4 separate regions of the Homo sapiens genome follow, and all the other regions are linked to region 2. Evidence: promoter capture Hi-C in 16 types of primary human blood cells and fetal thymus (Javierre and others, 2016). All regions are on one chromosome and are shown on one strand. Each heading gives the region's core, a stretch centred on a gene start or on the middle of the fragment in contact. The rest is flanking DNA. Distances are from core to core; before and after follow the strand shown. Region 1 overlaps TMEM131L (transmembrane 131 like). Region 2 holds the start of RNF175 (ring finger protein 175). Region 3 overlaps TMEM131L (transmembrane 131 like). Region 4 overlaps TMEM131L (transmembrane 131 like).

Region 1 (3,103 bases), core at 474-2,973, 190 kb after region 2:
GGTTTAAAATAACCAAACTGGGCCGGGTGCGGTGGCTCATGCCTGAAATACCAGCACTTTGGGAGGCTGAGGCAGGTGGATTACCTGAGTTCAGGAGTTCAAGACCAGCCTGACCAACATGGTGAAACCCCATCTCTACTAAAATTACAAAAATTAGCTGGGCGTGGTCATGGGCACCTGTAATCCCAGCTACTTGGGAGGCTGAGGCAAGGGAATCACTTGAACCCGGGAGGCAGAGGTTGCAGTGAGCCGAGATCACGCCACTGCACACCAGCCTGGGCAACAAGAGCGAAACTCTGTCTCAAAAAACAAAACAAAACAAAAAAGAAATAACCAAACCTTGCTGGGTAACCAACACAAAGTTACAGCTAGACAGACAGAATGAGTTCTGGTGTTCTACAGCACTACAGGGTGACTGCAGTTGACTACAATAAAGCCAGAAGGGAGGATTTTGAATGTTCACAACATAATGAAATGATAAATGTCTGAGGTGATAATACGCTAATTACCCTGAGTGGATCGTTACACATTGTATACAGTATCAAAACAGCACTCTCTATCCCATACCTAAGTACAATTATTACATGCCAACTAAAAAGGAAAAAAAAAAGAAAACAACATCTAGAAAGTCAGGTTAAACAGATATAAAAAGAGAAGTGGAGATACTTTGAGATCTCATTGTGCAGGTATTCAAAATGAAATATATCTGTGCTAAATGGAGCTTTTAAAAGACTCTAATAAAGGAAGACAGGCAAGATCTCAGCAGACTGGAATTGTTCCTCAAAAAATAGGCCAGTCATGGTGGCTCACACCTGTCATCCTAGCACTTTGGTAGACCGAGGCAGGTGGATCACTTGAGCTCAGGAGTTTGAAACCAGCCTGGGCAACATGGTGAAACCCTGTCTCCACAAAAAAATATAAAACTTAGCTGGGCATGGTGGTACATGCCTGTAGTCCCAGCTACTCAGGAGGCTGAGGAGGGAGGATCACCTGAGCTCGGGAGGCCAAGGTTGTAATAACTGTAACTGCACCACTGCATTCTAGCTTGGGCAACAGAGCAAGACCCTGTCTTAAAACAAAAGTAAAAATAAAAATAATTAAGAAACCATGATTGAGTTCTAGGAACTGTGAAGAAATACACTTAAATCCCCCATAGTAAACAATTAAGGAGCTCTACCATCAAAGACTGAGGCGGCTACACCAAGCCTTACACAAACCTGGACAGGTGAAAGGAAACCAGGAAGGTGAGTGTGGAATGCTCAGTGCATTTTTCAATGGAGATACAATTACTGCTTGTGCCCTGAGGGAATATGCTTGAGAAGTTTATGGCATTTAGGACTCAATCAAAAGAAGGCACAGCAAAGAGGAAACCATTAAAGGAGAACCAGGCAGGACAAGATAAACCGAGCCTGGGCCTGACTGGGATACTGGGCTGACAGGAGAGTATCTCTTATGTAAGATTATGCAACGCAACAAACAGAAAAAAGATTTGTTTGAACTATAGATGTTTTTAGTAGACCCAGAACTTGATTTTATCTCTTTTGCTTTGGGAGAACACACCGAAAAAAATCTAGAGAAAGATCTAAAGGGAAAATAAATATCTAGACCAAAAAGTTAAAAAAAAATTAAAGGAATGTACTAATTTAAAAAGAAAGAGAGCAACACAAAAAGCTGGTTAAATTGAACAGTGGAGAACAAGCAAGTCCTGGGGGAACAGCCGACTAACACAGAAAAAGAAGGAACTATCACCACTAGGCCCTGATGGACTCACACTTCCAAAGTGTCAACAACTGCTCACCTCAGGGCATCTGCTGAGAACACCACTCCAGTTGAAATAAGTGGACAAAAAGGAAACAAACTTCCCTAAGAAGCAGGTTTCAGAAGCCCCCGCAAGTCCACAGTGAGAGGCAATGGAAACCACCCTGTGCACAGATCTCAACGTCACTGCCCACAGACTGCAGAAGCTCTGCTCCTAACACAGCTTCCATACCACTAGCACAAAAGTGCCGGGAGATGCCAGAAACAAGGGCCCAAGGAAGAAACAGAAATCCACACATGGAAAACAGAAGGAAGGCAGGCCGAGTATGTCGGCTACCGCCAGGCAAATTTATAAACTCTGAGGGAAGGCCAGAGCATCTCAGGTGCCCCTTCCTGAGTAGAGCAGTGGTATGCACAGGTGGCTCCTCTCTAACCCCCAAAGTACCCAGATTAGCCTCCTGACTAATGGTGATCTCTCCCTGCCAAGCGTTAAGTGCAAAGGTCTGAGACTCCACAACCAGCATGAATTCAAGCGGAAACCAAGGTGAGGCTCTCTCCAACTTCCTTCCCTCTCTTTGGTAAATCGAAGTACTAGGGACGATTCTGCTTAAAATTAGTGCTTGGAGGGCTGGGAAGTGGGGGGACACGTTTTCCAATTTTTTTGGATGTGAAGTTAATAATCTGTTATTCTTGTGCGTTTCATTAAGATTGCAGATTCAAGTGAGGCTCAAATGACTTACTATTGAACCACTATAAATTCTGAAACCGTGGGGAAACCACGCACATTCTAGCAAGAACAAATCCAGCCTGTAGCTACTAAAAGTTCCCCAGCTGCACAGAGGCATGGAGAACTTCTGATTAAAATAAAAATAAAATAAAATAAAATAAAAACAAGAAATTGAAGAGGACTTCAAATTCTTTGAATGTTAACTCACAGGCCAAGATAACTGGATACACTACCATAGCCTTGAACTTTCATGTCCCGTTGGGGGTTCTAATCTCTGAATATTAAAGTTCTCCCGGAGTTTCATAATAGAAGAGGGTTTATATTCAGAAGGTTCTTTTTAAAAGTTAAGTGATTAAGGCATTTCAGCTATGTGCCAGAGACTAGTTCTAAGCTCTTTAAATAAATTGGTTGATTCAATTGCTACACCAACCCTATCCGAAAGGGCTATTATTACATATTTTACAGATAAACTGAGACACAGGGAGATTAGGTAACTTGGCTACAGTCACTCAGAACCAAGATTTTTAGCCAGGTGGTCTGGTTTGGAATTCACCCTCTTATTCACTCCCACTATGCATCTCTATGACAGGCATTTTATATGGCTGATATTTTCTACTG
Region 2 (3,112 bases), core at 427-2,926:
CCAGACCATGAAGTCAGTTTTGTCTGGGTTCAAATTCCCACTGCCCCACCTATTAGCTTCAAAACTTGAACAAACTTCTGGACCTCTCTGTGCTTCAGTGTTCTCCCGTGTAAAACACGGACGGTCACAATGCCCACCTCACAGGATTGTCAGGAAGACTGAATGAGCTAACACAGGTAGAGTGCTCAGGACGGCACCTGGCACACGGTAAGCATTCTATCAATGTTAACCATGATTTTTATTTCTCCAATTCATTATGCCTTCTCCAGCATTCCGGCCCTTGCATCCACTGTTCTCTCCATCTCAGACACTCTTTCCAACACACTCTGATCATGCTACAAGGTAGTCTTCAGATGTAGGTAACAGCCCCAGCGGCACCTGAAAACTTGTTCAAAAGACAAATGCTCAGGCTCCACCCTAGACCTACTATATTAAAAACTCTAGGGCTCAACTCCAGCAATCTGAAGATTTTTGTTTTGTTTTTTGATAGAGTCTCGCTCTGTTGTCCAGGCAGAAGTGCAGTGGTTCCATCACGGCTTACTGCAGCCTGAACCTCCCGGGCTCCGGCGATCCTCCAGCCTCAACCTCCTGAGTAGCTGGGGCTACAGGTGTACCACGCCCAGCTCACTTTTGTATATTTTATAGAGATGGGGCTTCACCATGTTGCCTAGGCTGGTCTCAAACTCCTAGGTTCAAGCAATCCGCCCGCCCTGTCCTCCCAAAGTGCTGGGATTAAAGGCATCAGCCACTGTGCTTGGCCAGCACTCTGAGTTTTAACAAACTCAGCATTCCTCCATAGGATTCTGATGCCCAGTTAAGGCTGGAAAACCAAGGCACCATCCGTGATAAATTGTACTTAGATGCTTATTTTTCTCTATCCCCTGTTAGGCTCTACGTTCCACAATGGCAGAGAAATGTCCATCTTGGTCTGTTCACCTCCTTTGTAGGTGTTGACAAATACGAGCCATCACAAACTGGAAAGGGGTAAGCTGTATTTCGTAGGACACATCATCTAATTCTGTGCTCCTCTTTTCTGTTTCCCCAAATCAACACCCAGGTATTTCTAAAGGCTTGCCTAAACGTTCCAGCTTGTTCTCAACCTTGAAGCCAGGCTTAGGCCTAAGTTGTAAAGGCGGGAGGGGAGACCCTGGAGGTAGAGGGGCAAAGGCAAGATGCTTGCGTCGCAGGGGCCCTGCATGGCCTGGAGCAGCATAGGGGCCAAGATGGTCTGCGCTCTCCCTAGATTGGAGTTTCTCTCCTTCATCATCTTTGGAGGAAGCACAGATAACTGAGGAAAGTCTGTATCTGCACAGCCACCCGAACTCCTGCCTCCTAATAAACACCTCTGAGGGAGAGGAAACTCTCTCTCTCTCTTCTCTTCCTCCCCAGCACCCCTCGCCCCCCCACCGCCATTTCTCACTCCTCTACTCCCCTCTCTCTCCCTACCCACCTCTGACCCCTCCTCCAGTCCTGCCGCCCGGTAACAAAACCGGGGTTCCCGCCACACGCACCCGGTAGGGCTCAAGACGCTTTATCGGCGACAATGGCTGGCTGAATGGGAGGCCTGAGGTTCTGAAGGAACCGGGGTGCTGGCGACCGGGACCTCGAGGCCGCTGCTGGGGAGGACGCTGGCCAGCGTGCAGGGGGCGGAGGCGGGGCGTGCCGGGAGGCTCCCATCTCCCGCCCCGCACAACCCGGGCAGGGCCGCCGCTCCGCCGCCGCCGCAGATCCGGCTCTCACCCTCGGCTCCCGAGGCCCCGCGGCGCCTCCTTCTGCGGACTCTGCGGGACCCTCCCCGGCAGGCGCTGTGCCCTGGAGAAGGCACAGTGGCTCAGGCATGGCCGCGGGGACGGCGGCGCGGAAGGCAGCGCCGGTGCTGGAGGCCCCCCCGCAGCAGGAGCAGGTACTGGCGCGGGGGCGCGGGCGTGGGGGACGCCAGGCCGGGGTCCCGGGGCTCACGCTGGTGCCGGGCAGGCTGCACAGACTGGTCTCCAAGACCCCGGGCCCCACCGGGGAGAACCGGCCCTGGAAAGACGTGGGGACGGACGCATGACCTTCTGGAAGATGCCACCGTGCGGGGTGCCAGTCCCTCCTCCACTCCCTCCCTCCCCACTTCTGTGCCCTCCCCGCTACCTTCCTTTCCTCCTTCTGATCCTCTTCCTTCGCTCCATCCCTCTTCTCGCATCCTCGCACTTTCTCTTCCAGGCTCACCCCTTCCACTCCCGCCCTCCTTTGTGACCGCCTGTGCCCTCCTCCCTCCTCGGCGGAAGCCCCCAGAGCCCAGGGTCAAGGTCGTAAGCTGCGAGAGAGGGGAAGGGGTGTACTGCAGGCTTTTGGCTAGACCGCCCTGGTTCTCAAACTCGAGTGTCATCAGAATCACTCGGAGGGCCTGTTACCACGCAGACTGCTGGTCTGTGCCCAGGGTTTCTGATTCAAGATGTGTACCCTGATCGTCAGCTTGTCTTGCCTGGTGCTCAACCTAGCCCATTTCTGCTTCTGCTGGCGTCAATTGCAAACCCAATCTTAATTTATTCTTCGTTCATAGGACAATTCTTCTTAGGCTACATCCAGGTACCAGGAGGATTTGGGGGTGGAGGAGGGTAGGTCTTACCTGGAGGAACCCAAATCCCATCCGTAAAACGAGGACAAAAATAACTCTTAAGGGCAAAGATAACTCTTAAACAACAACAAAAATCACTCACAGAGCGGGTAGGAAGAGATTAATGTCCCAAAATAGGTTCAGGCAAAGAACTGTAGGATTTCTGAGAAGGGCTTGCTCCTGACTAACCCCCTTCTCCTCCAACCCGTGAGGGCGTGGCATTCGAGCTGGGTGTTGGGGAATGGACAGGATCTGACCTCATGGGCCAGAGAATTCTAGATGGAGGGAACAACAGTACCAAATGGCTTGGAGATTTTTTTTTTTTTAATATTGGGATGGATGGCCATGGGACAAGGCAGAGAGAGGGGACTGTCCACTCTGACTGCCAGAAACCTAGGGGTCAGGAATGCTTATAGCAAAAAATAAGGGTGGGCTAGGCTGTGGAGGGGCTTGTGTACCACAAAATGGGGAAACTTAAAATGAAACTCCATGACTTTCTTGCTGGTTTCAAAC
Region 3 (3,095 bases), core at 523-3,022, 140 kb after region 2:
TTATCGGTATCTAATATCACCGAAATAAGTTTAAAAGTGAATAGCCAAATGCAAAATTATAAAGTGAAAAATAGATCAAAATATTAGAGATAGTAAGAATTACGCACCTTGAGACTGGAGCAACACCCCTTTTCTTGTTCTTTCTACATGTTCGACTTTTACTCCAATTTAAATTTTGTAAATTTCCTTCTCTTTTCTCCTGAAGCTTTTTCTTCCTATAAGGATCTTCTTGCTAAAGAAGAGAAAGTAAATGTTTAATGGTTTAAACTAAATATGAATAAAAACATGTTTAAATGTTTGAAGACCAACTCCATCTGAATTCAGAATGTCCCAGTGCTGTTGAAAACTGAGAAGTATGTTGCTCAGCCTCTAGTTTGTTTTCATTTCCCCTCTTGCGCTACTTCCCTCAAGCTCCACAGAAAAAGAAGAAAAAAGAATTGTTGCCTATAAAATTCCTAAGAGGCTAAAAAGGAAAAACATCTGCTAGCAATTTATGACCAGCTTGCTGTTAACTTTGCAGCAATAAATCCTCCAACCTTCACCTGTTAATTTGGTATGTGCAACTCACATAAATTACTGTACTATGAAGAAAAATTAGGTAAAAACTCAACTTAGGATCAAGTTGTGTCTTTATGTTTTTGTTTATAGACGAACTTTAGGAGAACAGCCAAATCTCTATAGAATGCTCCAAACTAGTGTAAGCTTCTCAGGTAAATAGGCAAGAATATGCCTGATGTTTCAAAAATGTGGTTCTGAAAAGCATCAGCATGAGATGCATAAACATTATATACATAAGTATTAAATAAGTATAGTTTCCTCAATTGGAGCCTTTTCCTCTTTTCAATGTCAGGCATGGTCTATTAACAGACCCAACGGGAGAGGGATTCCCTTTGCCCTTTCAAACTATGAAGTAGCTCAAGTCTTTAACATATTCTAATCCTTATTATTCTTCTTCCTTCCACATGTTGCCCTCTTAAAACAGAGACACTGTCAGTGGGTGGGCGGTGGTGGTAGCTCACACACTGAGACCCAAGGGCTTAAAAGACACAACTCTTCAGTGTGTTAGGTCCTTTCAGGAGGAAGATAAATCTTCTCCAGGCACCTCACAGAGGCAAATTCCCTAGATCCAGAAGAGTCCCCTTCCTACTGACTGAAGGATTCACACTTCATGGAAAGCAAAGATTGGCTCATTTTACCTTCTCTTTCAGAAGGTTGGCCCAGCAATCAGAGTAGGAATTGTGAAGTTGAAACATACACTCAACTAACACGAATAACTTGGAAGGAGAAAAAGGTTTTAGGTAACCTGCAATACCTACAAGTTCTATGTCTGAGATATTAGAACCCTTATGCATCTATTAAAGCAATGTGCACACCACAGTAAATAAAAACTAGAAGCAAAATGGGATTTGTAACTGCGTAGGCAGTGGGATTATGACATTTTTTATTTCTCCTTTATACACCTTTGTTTCCCCCAATAAGTATGTATTAACCTTTTTCTGATTCTGAAGGTATTTTAAAAACCTGACAAGTTAAGCATACAAAGCCCTATTGTACAGGACCTTATGCTAATTGCTTAAGTTTGAAGCTAAACTGAAGGATATGCAGACTCGGGATTTAATGTTAAACAGACATGCACCACATTTCTTCATGTATTGTTCCTTTGTGTCTTTCTAACTTGGTGGGGAGGTTTCCCACCCCCGTCCACTCAAGGGCCAGCAAAGGCTTGTCGACACAGCAAGTACTTGAGCCTATCCATCCCTCCAAGGTCAGGTACAAATAAAAAATCAGTCTCTCAGTGGGGTCTGAGAAAGCGTGAGCTGGTAAGCAGTCACTGATACTTGGCTGCCTTTCTCAAATCCATCTGGTTGGAACTGTCATCCTGTGCAAGCGAAAGGGTGAGTACATTCAGGACTACTGAGAGGCGGGACTCGGTGACCAGAAGCATCAAAGAGTTCTCCGTGAGTATGACAAAGAAAAGGGGAATGCAGGACAAGCTAGATTCAGAGGCGTGAGACATATCCCAGAAAGAGTGGCAGGGAGCACCTTCTGAAGCACTGGGCAGTGAGGAGGGATGTGGCTGAGAAAGAACAGGCCTGCAATGGAGACAGCAGGTAGAACAGGGAGGGAAAGTGAGCCAGAGCACACAGCAACAGACTTGTCAAGAAATCCGAGGAAGAGCAAAGCACCACCTGCCTGCTTTCTGGTGCAGAGGATCCCAGAGAGAGAAGGACAGGACTAACCAGGAAACTGAAGAGTCACATGGAGCTGCAATTAGGAGTATATCTCGGAGGCTAAACTGCCTAGTTTCAATCTCGTGCCTTGATTACTGGCTGTGTAACCTTGGGCAAGTTACTTAGCCTCTCTGCCTCAGTTTCCCGAGTCATCCTCAAAGCATTGTGTGGACTAAATTACCTAGCATCTCATAAGCCATTTAAATGAGACTTAGTTATCGTCATCATTATTATTGAGTTATTTGGAGGTTTTTTTGGTGGGTTTTTTTTTTTTTTTTTTGGAGACAGGGTCTTGCTCTGTTGCTCAGGCTAGAGTGCAGTGAGGCAATCATTGTTCACTGCTGCCTCAACCTCCCAGGCTCAAGCAACCGCCTACCTCAGCCTCCTGAGTAGCTGACACTACAGGCAAGTGCCACCATGCCCAGCTATTTTTTTTTTATTTTCTGCAGAGATGGGGTCTTGCTGTGTTGCCCAGACTGGTCTTGAACTCCTGGGTTCAAGAGATTCTCCTGCGTCAGCTGAACTATTTGAACTAGTTACGTTTGCTGATCTCTCTGATAGAGGTGATGATTTCACAGATGGCAGTGTGGAGAAACATTTCCTAAGCTTTACTAAAAGCAAAGGAAGAAATCAAAGAAGAGAAATCACAAACTTACTGCAAAAGTCATTCTTAAAGCCACTCACTGTGTATAAGTAAAATCAAATAAGCAATAACTAAGTTTGCTTAGTTTCTTAGCAAACTAAGAAAAATCTCTGATACACAATATTTGATAGAGTTGATATCTTTAACACAGAAAGTGCTCTTACAGAGAATAAAACATTCAAAAGAAAAATGGGCAAAGGACATGAAATATAAATTCATGA
Region 4 (2,982 bases), core at 406-2,905, 170 kb after region 2:
GAGGCCTTGGGGATTACTTGTCAAGCCTCCAGTGACCTCTTTCTCAGCTTCCACTTCTTCCTACCCCGCAACACAGCCTTCATCCTGAAGGTCTGACTGAGAAGTGAACGTCAACTATCAGCTAAAGAGATTTACACAGATGAGTCATTGAGAAAGAAACAGATTCTACAACAGGAACACACCTACCGGATTAGTATGAGTGAGGTAACTTTTCCATAGTCAGCAGGTGTGAAAACTACGCCAACCCTTTTCATTTCCAAAGGCTGCAGATGTAAGTGGAGGATGCCAAACCTGGATTCCTCAGAATGCGTACCCTGCAAATTAACAAATTAAACCATGTCATACTCCTAGAAAGCAAGCTTCCATTGTCATTAAGTGCATCCTAGAGTTTAAACACGATTGCTTCTCTTTTAATGTCCAGATTTGATCCTCCTAATCAACCTGTTAGAACTTGCTTATCCTGAGAGTTCACTCCAATAAACAGCTTCTGAGCCATAGCTAAGAAATATAGGCAGAGACTACAAGACAACCTCACACAGATGCTGGAGAGGGGATTTGCTTCCTGGTTTGAATGGAAGTTGGGGCTAGAAGCTTTCTACACAAAGATGCTTTGAATGTACAACATCAATCAGAAAACAGACCCAACAGCCTCTGCTTGAATGCTAGAGCAATCTGACAAGACCACTCACCCACCACTGGACAACCCAAAGATCTCTTTATATAAATTCTTTATACTGAATTTAAGTTTATATAGAAATCATCTTTATTATATTTAGTATCTCCAGTCAGAAGAAAGATCTTTATTTATTCACATCTTCCTCTATTTTCTCCAAGATGTCGTGTTTTTTTTTTTTTTTGGCATAAAACTTGTGCTCTAAGTTTAGTATCCAAGGTTTAATTCTTTTTATCTTTTTGGTAAGTGGACTTTCCCTCTTTCCACTGCTTTTTCTAGCTCCATCTCACTAAAAACAATGCAATGTATCACTTCTTAGAGCTAATATATAATCCTGAAGAATATTATTTCTCTTTGTTTTTAACTTTTAATTTTATGTTTCAGTTATTGCTAGTGTTACCCATGCCATCTGAAAAAGAGAATAGTAATAGTATTTGATTATTTGATTCATTTTTATTAGAATTATAAACTCCATGAAGGAAGAAACCCTGCTTTACGCAGGTAATATGAATACTGAATTTAAAAGCTGCTGACTTTTGGTGTTAAACTTATAGTAAAAACAGCACCTCTATTAAATGGTTCTTATATGCCAGGCACTGACATTTTTAGGGTATATAAAAAACTCCAATGTTCTTAACCCAAGGAACTATATTTCTAAAAGCAAATCAGCAAAATCAAAATGCAGGAAGCCTTTCTTTACATGATGAAGAATTCTAATAACAATTCTGAGTTAAATTTTAACTCAGTGTTTTCAAGGCACTGATATTAACTATTCTTTTCATCAATGTAATAAATTAACAATAGTAATAATTTCTCTTATCCCAAAATATATAATATTTCTTGGGAAAAACAGTCATAGATAAAAACTTCTTCCAAATGAGTTACATCATTTGTTCACATCTAAATAGAATATTTAGATTTAAAATAAACGGGCATTATTTTTGGAATTTCAAGCTATACATGATTCAATACCAGTGAGGCAAGATATCACTTAGTATTTTGGACTAATTATCCTGAATAGCCTTGAAGACCTCCTGGTGGAGAAAATGAGAAGGAGAGAGAGGGGCAGACTCGCTAACAAGAATAAAACCACACCTGGGTGCACGGCTTCACCACTCCCCCCAACTCGCCCAGTGCTGCCTCAACACTTAAGAAAAGAAAGGAGAGTCTGTGGTAATGGGTTATCTGTGGTCTCCCTCCTTCTGTTATTGAAAGTAATCTAGAGCCAACAGTATATTTTTGGAGGGATAAAGATAAAGAAAGAAGAAAATACCCAAGGCGCTTAAATATAGTGTAGTAAAAATAGAGTTATCCGCATATGTGAGTTTACATGTGTATGTATGTATTTTTTGTCAACAGATGCTCCACTTTTGAATTGATCTCAAACACAGAATACCTGTAAGGCCAACACTCAGCTGTATATAAATAGCCACGGAATGACTGAGTGGAAACTGAGAAGTAAGGCTGCCAAGTCCCCAGGCAAATAGCATCTTCACCACATGACATGTTTACTCCTACTCCTAAGTATTTGGGCAAGACCTCATGACTGCCCACAGGCTTAAGAATTTTAGAGTAGTCCTTTTTTATAGATAAGGTAAACATCACAGAAATTGGGTGACTTGCTAAAAACAGGAACACAGTTTAGTAAGAGAAGATTTTTTTTAATGTATTTGTTTTTCCTTATCTTGCCCTAAAAAAGAATTTGAGGGCCAAGGAATCTTAAGAGAATTATAAATTCTGGGGTCTCAAGTTTCATGGTTTTCTACAAAGCTCTGTTCAACTGTTATTTCTTTACTCACATGATTCTAAATAATCAAATTAAAATGATTTAGAGCTAACATAAACCCAGCTCCTACCGCACTAGTTAACTGGAAAAATCTGCTATGTATCGTTAATGCCCAGAGAATCAAAATAAAAGAGCCATATATAGTAAATAAAAGACATTTTAAACATAAATCAATGAGGCCCGTATGCTCATGTGTCTAGTTTGTCGGCATTCTTTTTTCTGTTTTAGGATAACATCCTACCAGGTAAGGGCAAGCTTCGGTGAGCTGGAATTCACCAGTTGTGAAATTAATCATCTGCATATCAGTGCCAAACCTATAAGGAAAAAAGCAAATGTTTAAAACAGCACTCACATCTGCCAGTAAAGAAAGATTTAATAAGTGTGTGCACATATATACATTTATACATAGGTGAGTACATTTGCACACACATACACACAAAATTCATCCCATCCTGTCCACCCGACATTCCACCCCACATTCCCACCCAGCTCCACCCCACATTCCCACACCCATATCTGCCAT

Evidence for each region. The method cuts DNA at HindIII sites, captures the fragments that hold promoters and counts their contacts. A CHiCAGO score of 5 or more calls a contact.
Region 1: a contact is called between a fragment that was not itself captured here and the fragment with the promoter of RNF175 in region 2, in 1 of 17 cell types (neutrophils). The highest score is 5.1, in neutrophils.
Region 3: a contact is called between a fragment that was not itself captured here and the fragment with the promoter of RNF175 in region 2, in 2 of 17 cell types (neutrophils and M1 macrophages). The highest score is 6.7, in neutrophils.
Region 4: a fragment that was not itself captured here is called in contact with the fragment with the promoter of RNF175 in region 2 in 1 of 17 cell types (neutrophils); the score reaches 5.0 in neutrophils.

Annotation. Positions count from the first base shown.
Region 1 is chr4:153,569,548-153,572,650 of GRCh38, reverse strand. The region is part of intron 7 of TMEM131L (transmembrane 131 like); the gene reads right to left. Among named protein-coding and RNA genes, the nearest start is that of TMEM131L, 100 kb to the right of the region's middle. The HindIII fragment of the contact is 4,820 bases long and covers 1-3,103 here.
Region 2 is chr4:153,758,588-153,761,699 of GRCh38, reverse strand. RNF175 (ring finger protein 175) reads left to right here and starts at 1,676. Exons shown (of 9, transcript NM_173662.4): 1 at 1,676-1,903. The coding sequence starts at 1,838. The HindIII fragment of the contact is 8,763 bases long and covers 1-3,112 here.
Region 3 is chr4:153,617,893-153,620,987 of GRCh38, reverse strand. TMEM131L (transmembrane 131 like) reads right to left here. Exons shown (of 35, transcript NM_001131007.2): 27 at 108-232. Among named protein-coding and RNA genes, the nearest start is that of TLR2, 65 kb to the left of the region's middle. The HindIII fragment of the contact is 2,135 bases long and covers 705-2,839 here.
Region 4 is chr4:153,593,590-153,596,571 of GRCh38, reverse strand. TMEM131L (transmembrane 131 like) reads right to left here. Exons shown (of 35, transcript NM_001131007.2): 19 at 2,701-2,773; 20 at 187-314. Among named protein-coding and RNA genes, the nearest start is that of TLR2, 89 kb to the left of the region's middle. The HindIII fragment of the contact is 2,123 bases long and covers 594-2,716 here.